3 separate regions of the Homo sapiens genome follow, and regions 1 and 2 are each linked to region 3. The links are contacts of gene promoters, found by promoter capture Hi-C in blood cells and fetal thymus (Javierre and others, 2016). All regions are on one chromosome and are shown on one strand. Each heading gives the region's core, a stretch centred on a gene start or on the middle of the fragment in contact. The rest is flanking DNA. Distances are from core to core; before and after follow the strand shown. Region 1 has its middle 2.8 kb from the start of ZBTB8A. Region 2 has its middle 20 kb from the start of ZBTB8A. Region 3 holds the start of NHSL3 (NHS like 3).

Region 1 (3,978 bases), core at 909-3,408, 210 kb before region 3:
CCTGACCTCGAGTGATCCACCCACCTTGGCCTCCCAAAGTGCTGGGATTACAGGCATGAGCCACTGCACCCGGTATAAGTTGTCTATTTTTTTAGAAGATTCTTCAAGCTTTCACTAACACCTCAAAGCCCTTCCACCCACTGTCTAGTTCTAAAGTCACATTTTCAGGTTTCTGTTATGGCAACACTTCTAGGTACCACAATCTGTATAAGTGATCTATTGCTGTATAATAAATTACTGGCCCGGCTTGGTGGCTCACACCTGTAATCCCAGCACTTCAGGAGGCTGGGGTGGGAGGATCGTTTGAGCCCAGGAGTTTGGGACAAGCCTGGGCAACATAGGGAGATCCCCATCTCTACATAAAATTAAAAAATTAGGCATTGTGGTGTGCACCTGTAGTCCCAGCTACTTGGGAGGCTGAGGCAAGAAGATTGCTTGAGCCTAGGAGGTCAAGGCTGCGGTGAGCCGTGTTCATGCCATTGCACTCCAGCCTGAGCGACAGCTATCTCAAACAAACAAACAAAAATTCTTTTACACATATCCCCTTCTAGCTACCACCATCTCTCTTTGCCTGTAATAATTCTAAAACATGACCCCAAATTCTGTGACATTCTTTCCATTAGAGATAGCAACTATGTCCCCCTTCTGCTTGAATCTTAGTAGGCTGGGACAACTTCCATAGATAGGCAGAAAAAGTCATGCAGCTCCCTCCTACCTGTCTTGGACACACTCTGTCAGAACCCAGCTGCCATGATGCAGGAAGCCCCAGCCCCACAGAGAGGTCATGGGTAGGTGCTCTAGATGACAAATCTCAGCTGAGCCAACCTTCAAGTGATCCCAGCCCAGGTGCCAAACCTTTAAGCGAAGAAACCTGCAGATGATTCCAGTTCCCAGTAGTTCAAGTTACCCCCAGTCATTTAAGTCTTCCCAGCTAAGGCTCCAGACAACAGGAAAAAAAAAAACAAGCCACCCCTGCTGTGACCTGACCCACAGAATCCAGGAGCATAATAAAATAGCTTCAGTTTTCTACTACTAAGTAAGTTTGGTTTGGTTTATTACACAGTAAAAATAACTGGAACATCCCCTTTATAAACCAGTTTCTGAGAGGAATTGTCTGTTCTCATCATCTCTATTCCTTCATCCTCCACTTATTCCTCTAATCTGGAAATCCACCCCATCTTTTAAGCCTAATCATGTTCTCTAAAGTCAATGATCTCCAACTTGTTAAATGTAATGGACATTTTCTTTTAGATTTGTTCTCTTAGCAATATTTAGCACTACTGCCCAATTCTTCCTTTTTTCCTTATTTTTATAGCTGGGTTCTCGCTCTGTCACCCAGGCTGGAGTAGTAGTGATGCCATCATGGCTCACTGCAGCCTAAAGCTCTTGGACTCAAGCGATCTTCCCACCTCAGCCTCCTAAGTAGCTAAGCCTACAGGCACAAACAACCAAGCCCAGCTAATTTATTTTATTTTTTTTGTAGAGATCGGGTCTCATTATGTTGCCCAGGCTAGTCTGGAACTCCTGGCCTTAAGCCAACCTCCTGCCTCAGCCTCCCAAAGTGCTGGCATTACAGGTATGAGCCGCTGTGTCTGGACTCTTCTTTTAGTTTTTATGCCATCACATTATCCCAGGTCTCTTCCTTCCTCTCCAGTCTTCTCACACTCATTTGCAATTTCAGCTTCCTCTAACCACCCACTAGATGAGGAAGTAGCTCAATGTTTGGTCCTAAGCCTTCTTTGCTTCTCATTTTATATTCTCTCTCTATGCATATCCATGGTTTTAATTCCCATCCCACCTATATGACTTTGATGATGAAATTTCTTTTTTCTTTTCTTTTTTTTTTTTTTTTCAGACGGAGTCTCACTCTGTTGCCCAGGCCGGAGTACAGTGGCATGATCTCAGCTCTCTGCAACCTCCACCTCCTGGGTTCAAGTAGGAATTTTTTTTTAATTTAAAAATTTTAAAAATCCTGCCCTTCTAGTCCTCTCTCTCTCAGTGAACAGAACCACCATCTGTCCAGTTCCAAAAGGCTGGGAGTTGTCTTTGACTCCTCCTTCTCCCTCATTTCTCAGAGTCAAACTATTATCTCTAATATTTAACTCTCCACCTCACTTGATCTCCCCACTTCTATCTACCTCCACTCTAGTTCAAGATTCTACCATCTCTTAGCTGGGCCACTGTGATCCACTCTTCCTTCCCTCTAATTTATCTTCCACAGTCATCTTTTCAAAATGCTTACCTCATCATAGCACACACACCCCATGCAGCTTAAAACACATTAATGGCTCCCAAAGTTCTTAACCTGGCCCGACAAGGCCCTGATGGTCTGACCCCTGCCTCCCTCTCCCATCTTATCTCTTGTCTCTCTCCCTCACGTTGCACTCCAGTCTCATCAGCCTTTCAGGCTATATTCCCATCTACCAAGCACCATTTTGCTCCTTCTATCTGGAATGCTCCTGACCACTCACACGCTTGCCTGTTAATTCCTACTCCAGATTTCCAGTCAAGATAACCTCCTCAAGGAAGTCCTCCTTACACAAACCCTCTCCCTCATGAGACGGGTCCCCACTTCATCAATATTCTCATCACACGACATACCTTTCCTTCAGACTTATCCAATTTTCAAATTATACATTTATTTGATTACCATCTGTCTCCCCCACTAGACTGCAAATCCCATAAAAGCAGGGACTTGGTGAATTTTTTGCTCACCACTGCATTCCAAGAGCCTAGAGCAAAAACTTTACCCTTAGCAGGCACTGTTAAAATTGGAATGGGACCAGGTGCGGTAGCTCATGCCTGTAATCCCAGCACTTTGGGAGGCCAATGAGGCTGGATCACGAAGTCAGGAGTTCAAGACCAGCCTGGCAACCTGGTGAAACCCTGTCCCTACTAAAAATACAAAAATTAGCCAGGCGTGGTGGCGGGCACCTGTAATCCCAGCTACTCTGGAGGCTGAGGCAGAGAATTGCTTGAACCTGGGAGGCGGAGGTTGCAGTGAGCCGAGATTGCATCATTGCACTCCAGCCTGGGTGACAGAGCAAGACTCCGTCTCCAAAAAAAAAAAAAAAAAAAAAAAAAAAAAGGAATGGATTATCTTCCTCAAGATTTGAACTGAATAGGTGGAAACAGGGATGGGGGTTGGGTGGGGTGGGAGACAGAGTTTAAGAGACTAGCACTGGTTAATGGTGGAGCTCTAGCATACAGAAACGTGCTCCCAAAGCTAGGAGAATGAAGGTGAGGGACAAAACTCTCATTACCTCTTCCTTGCAACAAAGAGGTTATTTTTGTTTGTTGTTTTTGTTTTTGTTTTTGAAATGGAGTCTTGCTCCGTCACCCAGGCTGGAGTGCAGTGGCACGATCTTGGCTCACTGCAAACTCCACCTCCTGTGTTCAAGCCATTCTCCTGGTTCAGCTGCCCCAGTAGCTGGGATTACAGGCGCGCACCACCATGCCCAGCTAATTTTTGTATTTTAAGTAGAGATGGGGTTTCACCATGTTGGCCAGGCTGGTCTCAACCTCCTGACCTCGTGATCCGCCCACCTCGGCCTCCCAAAGTGCTGAGATTATAGGTGTGAGCCACCACACCCGGCCTCAACAAAGAGTTTATCACCAACCTGATGTGCTCTCTTGAGGAATATGTTTGTGGAACTCTTTTGCATGTTTTAATTAACTAAGGCTAAAATAAAACCTTTGGCTAAAACCATGTCCAGGTCTTTCTGGGGGAATTCTCAATGGGGGCGCTAGCAGAGTAATCTGAGTACATCCAACACACCAGACACCTAATGGTTTTCAAATATGTTTCTACTTACCTGTTCAGAAGGTGAGGAAATGCAACTAAATAGCAAAGCACCTCTGCAGTGACACAGAAGTGACATTGAGACAATTGTGAATATCTTGTATCCTCAAAATGCATAGCTAATTATTCCTGAAATCAAAGTTACAAACTGTCCAATATGAATGATTTTGAACAGG
Region 2 (4,379 bases), core at 1,628-4,127, 220 kb before region 3:
TGAGGTATGTGGATCACCTGAGGTCAGGAGTTTGAGACCAGCCTGGCTAACATGGTGAAACCCAATCTCTACTAAAAATACAAAAATTAGCCGGGCGTGGTGGTGCGAGCCTGTAATTCCAGCTACTCGGGAGGCTGAGGCAGGAGAATGGCTTGGACCCAGCGGGGCAGAGGTTGCAGTGAGCAGAGACTGTGCCATTGCACTCCAGCCTGGGAAACAAGACAGAAACTCCGTCCCCCCACCACCCCCCCAAAAAAAGTATCAAAAATTAACAAAAGGTACACCTATAATGGTCCACCTAATGGCACTTACTATATAAATGGAGCTTGCAGGACTGGAAGTTGCTCTAGAAGGGCCAGTGAGTGAGTGGTAACTGAATATGAAGGCCTAGGACATTACTGTAGACTTTATAAACACGGTACACTTAGGCTAAATGTATTTATTTATTTTGAGACAGAGTCTCATTCTGTCACCCAGGACGGAGTACAGTGGCACGATCTCAGCTCACTGCAACCTCCGCCTCTGGCTTCCAACAATTCTGCCTCAGCCTCCTGGGTGGCTGGGATTACAGGCACGCGCTACCATGCCCAGCTAATTTTTGTATTTTTAGTAGAGACAGGGTTTCACCATGTTGGCCAGGCTGGTCTCAAACTCCTGACCTCAGGTGATCTGCCCACCTCGGCCTCCCAAAGTGCTAAGATTACAGGCCTGAGCCACCGCGCCCAGCTGGCTAAATTTATTTTTAAAAATTTCTTTCTTCAATAGTGAATTAACTTTAGCTTGCTCTAACATTTTTACTTTATACACTTTTTAATTTTTAAAAAACTTTTACGGCCGGGCGCGGTGGCTCACGCCTGTAAACCCAGCCCTTTGGGAGGCCGAGGCGGGTGGATCACGAGGTCAGGAGATCGAGACTATCCTAACACAGTGAACCCCCGTCTCTACCAAAAATACAAAAAATTAGCCGGACGTAGTGGCGGGTGCCTGTAGTTCCAGCTACTCGGGAGGCGAGGCAGGAGATGGCGGGAACCCGGGCGGCGGAGCTTGCAGTGAGCCGAGATCGCGCCACTGCACTCCAGCCTGGGCGACAGAGTGAGACTCCGTCTCAAAAAAAAAACAAAAAACAAAAAACTTCTTAGGCCAGGTGTGGTGACTCAAGCCCGTAATTCCAACACTTTGGGAGGCTGAGGCCGGAGAATTGCATGAGCCTGGAAGTTAAGACCAGCCTAAACAACTTAGTGAGATCCCATCTCTACAAAAAATAAAAAATAAGCTGGGCATGGTAGCGCCCATAGTCCCAGCTACTCTGGAGGCTGAGTGGGGAGGATCACTTAGGCCTGGGAGTTTGAGGCTGCAGTGAGCCATGATCAAGCTACTGCATTCCAGCCTGAGTGACAGAGGGAGACCTTGTCTCAAAATAAAAAACAAAAACCAAAAAAACCCACTTGACTCTTTTGTAATAACACTTAGCTTAAAACACACATTCTACAGCGGTACAAAAATATTTTCTTTCTTTATATCCTTATTCTATAAGCATTTTCCTATTTAAAAAATTTTTTTGAAACACCATGACTGGCTAATTTTTGGGCTTTTTGTAGAGACAGGGTTTTGCCATGTTGCCCAGGCTGGTCTTGAACTCCTGAGCTGAAGCAGTTTGCCCACCTCATCCTCTCAAAGTCGCTGGGATTACAGGCGTGAGCCACCTCACCCGGCTAATTTTACTTTTTAAACTTTTTTTGTGAAAAATTAAGACACACACACACCAACACACACACACACTAGACTAGACTAGGCCTACACAAGGTCAGGATTACCAATATCACTGTTTTCTATCTATATATCTTGTCCCACTGGAAGGTCTTCAGGGGCAATAACACGCGTGGAGCTGTCATCTCCTATGATCATGGTATCTTCTTCTGGAATACCGCCTGAAGGACCTGCCTGAGGCTGTTTTACAGAAAACTTTTAAAAATATAACTAGAAGGAGTACATTCCAAAATAATGATGAAAAGTATAGTATTTAAACACACAAACCAGTAACTTTTTTTTTTTTTGAGATGGAGTCTCGCTCTGTTGCCCAGGCTAGAGTGCAGTGGCATGATCTCAGCTCACTGCAGCTTCTGTCTCCCAGGTTAAAGTGATTCTCCTGCCTCAGCCTCCCGAGTAGCTGGGATTATAGGCGCGCGCCACCATGCCCAGCTAATTTTGTATTTTTTGTAGAGATGGGGTTTCACCATGTTGGCCAGGATGGTCTTGAACTCCTGACCTCGTGATCCTTCCACCTCAGCCTCCCAAAGTGTTGGGATTACAGGGGTGAGCCACTGTGCCCAGCCCATAGTCATTTATTATCAAGTATTCTGCACTGTACATAATTATGTGTTCTAGAATTTTGTATGACTGTTAGCACAGATTTGTTTACACCAGTGTCACCGCAGTGCTAGGATGCTACCGCAGCTACAACATCACTAAGCAATAGGAAGCTTTCGGCTCCATTATATTCTTAAGAGACCACTGTTGTATATGCAGTCTATTGTTGACCAAAATGTGGTGCATGACTGCAGTTATTGTTAGATGATGTGTTTTGAAGTGTGGTATGGGAACTATAGTCACTGGAATAATAAACATATAAAGTATAAGTTTCTAATTCTGAGATGAGTAAGATGAGGGTAAGATCATTACATTTGTTAAAGAGCTGGTACAAATTCACAGGTATCTGTTCCAGCTTCTTGTTTCCTCTTTGCTTTTTTTTTTTTTTTTTTGAGAGGGTCTCACTCTGTCGCCCAGGCTGGAGTGCAATGCCATGATCTTGGCTCACTGCAACCTCTGTCTCCCAGGCTCAAGTAGTACTCCCGAGTAGCTGGGACCACAGGTGCGTACCACCACGCCTGGTTAATTTTTTGTATTTTTTGTAGAGATAGGGTTTTGCCATGTTGGTCAGGCTGGTTTCAAACTCCTGAGCTCAAGCGATCTCCTGCCTTGGCCTCCCAAAGGGCTGAGATTACAAGCGCAAGCCATCGCACCAGGCCCCTCCTCTTTGCTTTCTATTAGTCTTTTATCTCCCTGGTCACCAGCGGTTTGTCCAACCGCCTATTTTCCCCTTTTCTTCCAATGAAGAGTCCCACATCTTTCTTTATTAAATTTAAATATTTTTCTCACTTGAATATCTCAGATAACCGATGATCCTCCTAGTTAGTTACAGTTTTGGTGATGAAGACATTCATTTATTCCTCAAATGTATGCAAATTATCAATTTATCATCACTTAACTTCAAACTTAAGCTTTTTTTGCCCTGCTTTGTGCAACCAGCTGGACTCTATAAACATTTCTTCTTTCCCAGCTAGAGCAATGTTAGGCCCTGTCAATAGAGGGCGCCAGAGGGACACTGCAATAGCAGAGGCAGGGGCTTAGTGATTTCAGTGTAATTTTTTTTTTTTTTTTTTTTTAAAGACGGAGTCTCGCTCTGTCGCCCAGGCTCGAGCGCAGTGGCGCGATCTCGGCTCACTGCAAGCTCCGCCTCCCGGGTTCACGCCATTCTCCTGCCTCAACCTCCCAAGTAGCTGGGACTACAGCTCTCACGCCAACACGCCAGGCTAATTTTTTGTATTTTTTAGTAGAGACGGGGTTTCACCGTGTTAGCCAGGATGGTCTCGATTTCCTGACATGTGATCCGCCCACCTCGGCCTCCCACAGTGCTGGGATTACAGGCGTGAGCCACTGCGCCAGGCCAAGTTTTTTTTTGTTTTTTTGTTTTTGAGACAGAGTTTCACTCTCGTTGCCTAGGCTGGAGTGCAATAGCGTGGTCTCAGCTCACTGCAACCTCTGCCTCCGGGGTTCAAGCAATTCTTCTGTCTCAGCCCGCCACCATGCCTGGCTAATTTTTGTATTTTTAGTACAGGCGGGGTTTCACCACGTTGGCCAGGCTGGTCTCGAACTCCTGACCTCAGGCAATCCACCCGCCTCAGCCTCCCAAAGTGCGAGGATTACAGGCTTGAGCCACCGTGCCCGGCTTCAGTGCAACTTTCTTCTTCATCCTACAGTACAGCTCCATGGGGAATGGTGCCCACCCTGCAGTGAGTTTGCTGGCACCCTGGTGGGTGGCCACAGATCTTCCAGCCCACACCTGTGGCACCTCAATGAACTTCACCATCCAGCAGGCGGCAGACATATCCTCTCTGAAGAGGTCTAAATCCCAGTCTTTGGTGGGGCATGGGAAAGGAAGTCCTCTTGCAAGTTTCTTCTTTCCTTGAGTACTCTCCTTCAACCTTAAAGGTAATAGCTGGTCCTGTTGTCTTTGCCATTTGCTACATTTGCTATTCCTGTTTGTTTATTTATGTATTTAAGAGAGGGTCTCACTCTGTCCCCCAGGCTGGAGTGCAGTA
Region 3 (4,449 bases), core at 1,521-4,020:
CAGCCTCTCGAGTATCTGGGATTACAGGCGCTTGCCACCTTGCCTGGCTAATTTTTGTATTTTTAGTAGAGACGGGGTTTCACTATGTTGGCCAGGCTGGTCTCAAACTCCTGACCTTGTGATCCACCTGCCTCGGCTTCCCAAAGTGCCAGGACTACAGGCGTGAGTCACCTTGCCCGGCCTGCTATTGCCTCTTGAAATTCTTTTTTTAAAAGACAAAGTCAGGCCAGGCACAGTGGCTCACGCCTGTAATCCCAGCACTTTGGGAGGCCGAGGCGCGTGGGTCACCTGAGGTCAGGAGTTCGAGACCAGCCTGACCAATATGGCGAAACCCCGTCTCTACTAAAAATACAAAAATTAGCCAGGCGTGGTGGCGGGCGCCTGTAGTCCCAGCTACTCAGGAGGCTGAGGCAGGAGAATCGCTTGAACCCGGGAGGTGGAGGTTACAGTGAACCGAGATTGTGCCACTGCACTCCAGCCTGGGCGACAGAGCAAGACTCAGTCTCAAACAAACAAACAAACAAACAACAACAACAACAAAAAGACAAGATTTCACTCTGTTTCGCAGGCTGCAGTTCAGTGGCGCGAACATGGCTCACTATAGCCTTGACCTCCTGGGCTCAAGGGATCCTCCCACCTCAGCCTCCCGAGTGAGTAGCTAGGACCACAGGCACTTGTCACCACACCTGGCTAATGAAAAACAATTTTTTTTTTGGAGAGATGAGCTCTTACCATGTTGCCCAAGGCTGGTCTCGAACTCCTAGGCTCAAGCAATCCTCCCACCTTGGCCTTCCAAAGTGTTGGGATTACAGACATGAGCCACTGTGGCAGGCCTTGAAATTCTTAATAAGTTTTTTTTTTTTTTTTTTTTTTTTTTTTTTGAGACAGAGTCTCGCTCTGTCACCCAGGCTGGAGTGCAATGGTGCAATTTTGGCTCACTGCAACCTCCGCCTACCGGGTTCAAGCAATTCGCCTGCCTTAGTCTCCCAAGTAGCTGGGACTACAGGCATGCACCACCACACCCAGCTAAGTTTTTGTATTTAGTAGAGACCGGGTTTCACCATGTTGGTCTGGCTGGTCTTAAACTCCTGACCTCAGGTGATCCATTTGCCTGGGCCTCCCAAAGTGCTGGGAATACAGGCCTGAGCCACCATGCCTGGCACCTGTAACACTTTTCTCTTGAAAACTGCATTCTCTACATTCCCTTTCCTCACCAACTAACAGAGGAAGAGGCTGGGTTCTTAGGAGTGCTAGGCTGGGCCAAGAGCACCCAGAGTACAGGGCTGGTTCCTGATCCAGAATGGGTGCTCTGGGATTGTGGGCTGGATCTGAATGAATGGTGGTTAGACAAGAAACTGAGGCCCAGCATGGACACTGGGTGGTCTGCCCCAGGGCCCCCAGGTGGGAGAGTGTCAATGATGTCCCAGGTTCACCACAGCTGAGCCCCTGGGGACATGCAGGGGGCTAAGGCAGGTTAGGGAGATCCCACTGCACTCTAGTAATCCTGCAATGTTATGGTGAGTGCTATCTACAGTGCGCCGGGGCTGACTGGGCTGGGTGGCCCAGACAAATGGGCCCCTGCCCTCGTGGAGACCAGGACCAAGAGAAAGCCGTGTGACCAGAGTCAGATTGGGTGATTCTGGCCACCCCACTGGTATGGACATCACAAGGCCCTTCTGGGGACTGACGGAGGAGGTTCAAGGGTGCTGAACCCACAGCTGGTCCCCAGCGCAATTTCTAGTCCTTAGGGTTTGAAGCCTTGGACCAGCCTGAGACAAAACCCAGATGACCATCTTGGCTCCTCTCCCGCTGACCACCTCTGTCCCCTTCTGGCCTCCATTTCCGTTGTCGTGGGATCAGATGATATAAAAGGGCTTGGTCAGCTGTAATAGACCCAGAGGCCTGTAGGCAATGAGTACAGCAATTTCAGGATTCTTAATGTTTCCTTTCCTACCAGCCTCCCAGTCACACCTCTCACCTGCCCAGAGTTCAACCCTAATTAGTGTTGAGCATCTCAGTGGGAACTCCTGGTCCAGGCAGGAGTGCCCTGGGGCCTCAAATCCTAGTCCAAGGGTAAACGGAGGAAGGGCTATCCTCATCTTGCCACCAAAGGGTGAGGCAGGAACACAGTGGACCTGGGCCCCCGCTGCACACCGAAGATGGTTGGAGCCTGGAAGGTGTGGTAAAGAGCGAGGAGGCGACCCCAGTCAGCAGATGGGAGGGAAATGCCCACTGCGGGTCACAGGTCTTGGACGTGTCTGAAGCCTCTATTCCTGGCGCAAGCGCCCCAACACTGTCGGGGCTTGGAAGGAATTCTCCAAATTCCCTTATTCCAGGAAAAAATATTCCAGAATCCCCTGTCTATTCCCAGCCCAAACTTGGGATACCAAGTCTCCTGGGGTCCAACCCCAGCCTCTCGCTCCTCCTTTCCTGCGCCCTTCCCCTTTCCGTCCCCACCCCATACCACCCTCTTCCGAACAGATCTCCCGCGGTGCCCCCTGCGGGACGGAACCTCAGTGCCGCCCCCTCCCGGGCGGCCCCACGACCCGCCCTCTCGGGCCCCAGCGGGGGGCACGACCCCGGGCTCCCGGGACCCCCTCCTCTCGGGACTGGACCTCGCCCTCCGCCGGGACCGGGGGAGGCGGGGAGGGGCCGCAGGCAGCGGCGCTCCCGCCCTGCGGCCGCTCCCGCCCCGCTCCTTCCCTCCCCGCCGGCCTGCGCCCCGCCCGCCGCTCGGCCGGCCCCTCCCGCGCCGCTCCCGCCGTCCGCTCTCCGCGCCCGCTCGGCCTCCGCCGCCCAAACTTTTCTCCGGGCGCGCGTCCCCGGCGGCCGCCCCCGGCATGGGCACCGCGCCGCAGGGGGCCTGACCCGCCGCCCGCTCCGCCCCCGCCTGCCATGGCGGCCCGCGCGCCCCCCGCCGCACCTGCGGCCGAGGAGCCGGGGAACCCGGGCGGCCCCCCGCGCAGGAAGAAGTCCCGCTCCGGCGCGTCCGGCCTCCGCCGCGCCTTCAGCTGGCTGCGGGGCAAGCGGCGCAAGAAGAAGGCGGCGGGGGCCGAGGGCGCCGAACCGGCCGCCCCCCGGGCCAAGAAGGCGGAGGACAAGGCCAAGAGGGCCAAGGGCAAAGGCCGAGGTAAGGCGGTCGGCACCTGGGCTGAGCGCGGGGGGGCGTCGAGGGTGCGGCCGAGGGGGCTCTGCCGGGGGTCCGCGCGCGGCGTGTTGGAGGGGGGTGACCCCCAGGAGCTGGTGCTGGAAAGCGAAGAGGCCAGGGCTGAGTCCGAACACTTCCACCCTGCGCTGCCTTCCGCAGTTTCCAGACCCAGTCCTGCCCCGCTGTGAGGGGAGGGGACCCCCGGCTGGGGCAGGGATCCCCTGGCAGAGCAGGAAGTGCTGGTAGCCCGACTCCAGGGCGGTGAGGCGATTCCCCCTCCCCCAGGCTCACCGAGGTTCTGCCCTCTGCTGAGTCAGGGGGTCAGAGACTTAACGCTGGCCTGTGGCCAATGGGAGAGACAGGTGGCCTTGGGTCTCTGGTGGGGACCCTCTGGGTCTGGAAGGTCAACCGCACTCACAAAGAGTTTCAGCTCCAGCTGGATCTGGATTTCCAGCCCCACAAAGGACCTCACATGGAGCACAGTGTGCCCTGCCTTAGCTTCTTAACAGTGCTGGCTTTTCCCACCTGGCCTCCCTCAACGCTCACCTGGGCCAGGCCACAAACATCACCTCCTGGGGTAGTGAGCTCACCAAGGTGAACCAACCCGCCCCTCCCTATCACTCCTTCTTCCAGCCCTGGAGAAACATGCCAGTGTCGGAAGTGTGCTTACAGATGGGGGAAACTGAGGCCCAAGCTCAGTGGAGAGGCTGTACCTGGGCTGGGGTGGGTACTTAAAATTCAACAGCTAATTCTCAGTCTTTCTGAATTTGAGTCCCTGGGCTCCTCCTCTGGCCTGGACGGGCAGCCTGAAAGGCGGGGAAGCCGACCTGGCCCATCCCTGCTGGGGTCATTTTCAGTTCCTTTCTTGGGCCTTCCCTCATTTTCCAGTTTCTGTCTTCCTTTTGATGGGGAGGGCTTGAGTCTTTGCAAGAGGGTGGAGCTCCCTTGGGGCTTGCTGTCCTGGGAAGTCCACCTTTCCTAGACTGCTGCTGCAGTGCTGGAGGTGAGGAAATGGCTGGGTGTGCGGGCCCATCCCATTCTGCCTGTGTTTACCCTCCCAGTGTCCTTTAACCACCTCTTCTGGGAGAGTTAGAAGGAACACTTTAGGGGTCAGGAAGAGGGTGGAAAGCCTCATGTGTGATTGTATCCGGCTTGATCTTCCTTTTGGATAAGGGCCCTGCTTCCCTGCGGCACAGCCACACATAGAAGTGAGGGTGCTGGGGCTGGGGTGACTGGGCCAAACCCTGAGGGAGGACTGGATTTGGGTGAGGGGTGTTTCCAAAGCCTCTGCAGTCCTAACA

What was found. Contacts are between HindIII fragments. The CHiCAGO score rates a contact against its expected background, and 5 or more counts as called.
Region 1: a fragment that was not itself captured here is called in contact with the fragment with the promoter of NHSL3 in region 3 in 1 of 17 cell types (M1 macrophages); the score reaches 5.3 in M1 macrophages.
Region 2: a contact is called between a fragment that was not itself captured here and the fragment with the promoter of NHSL3 in region 3, in 5 of 17 cell types (M0 macrophages, M2 macrophages, megakaryocytes and 2 more). The highest score is 8.4, in M0 macrophages.

What each region holds. Positions count from the first base shown.
Region 1 is chr1:32,534,630-32,538,607 of GRCh38, forward strand. No RefSeq gene overlaps it. Among named protein-coding and RNA genes, the nearest start is that of ZBTB8A, 2.8 kb to the right of the region's middle. The HindIII fragment of the contact is 4,105 bases long and covers 107-3,978 here.
Region 2 is chr1:32,517,239-32,521,617 of GRCh38, forward strand. No RefSeq gene overlaps it. Among named protein-coding and RNA genes, the nearest start is that of ZBTB8A, 20 kb to the right of the region's middle. RefSeq lists enhancers at 3,942-3,991, 4,042-4,161. The HindIII fragment of the contact is 798 bases long and covers 2,479-3,276 here.
Region 3 is chr1:32,739,060-32,743,508 of GRCh38, forward strand. NHSL3 (NHS like 3) reads left to right here and starts at 2,771. Exons shown (of 7, transcript NM_020888.3): 1 at 2,771-3,130. The coding sequence starts at 2,896. The HindIII fragment of the contact is 20,286 bases long and covers 1-4,449 here.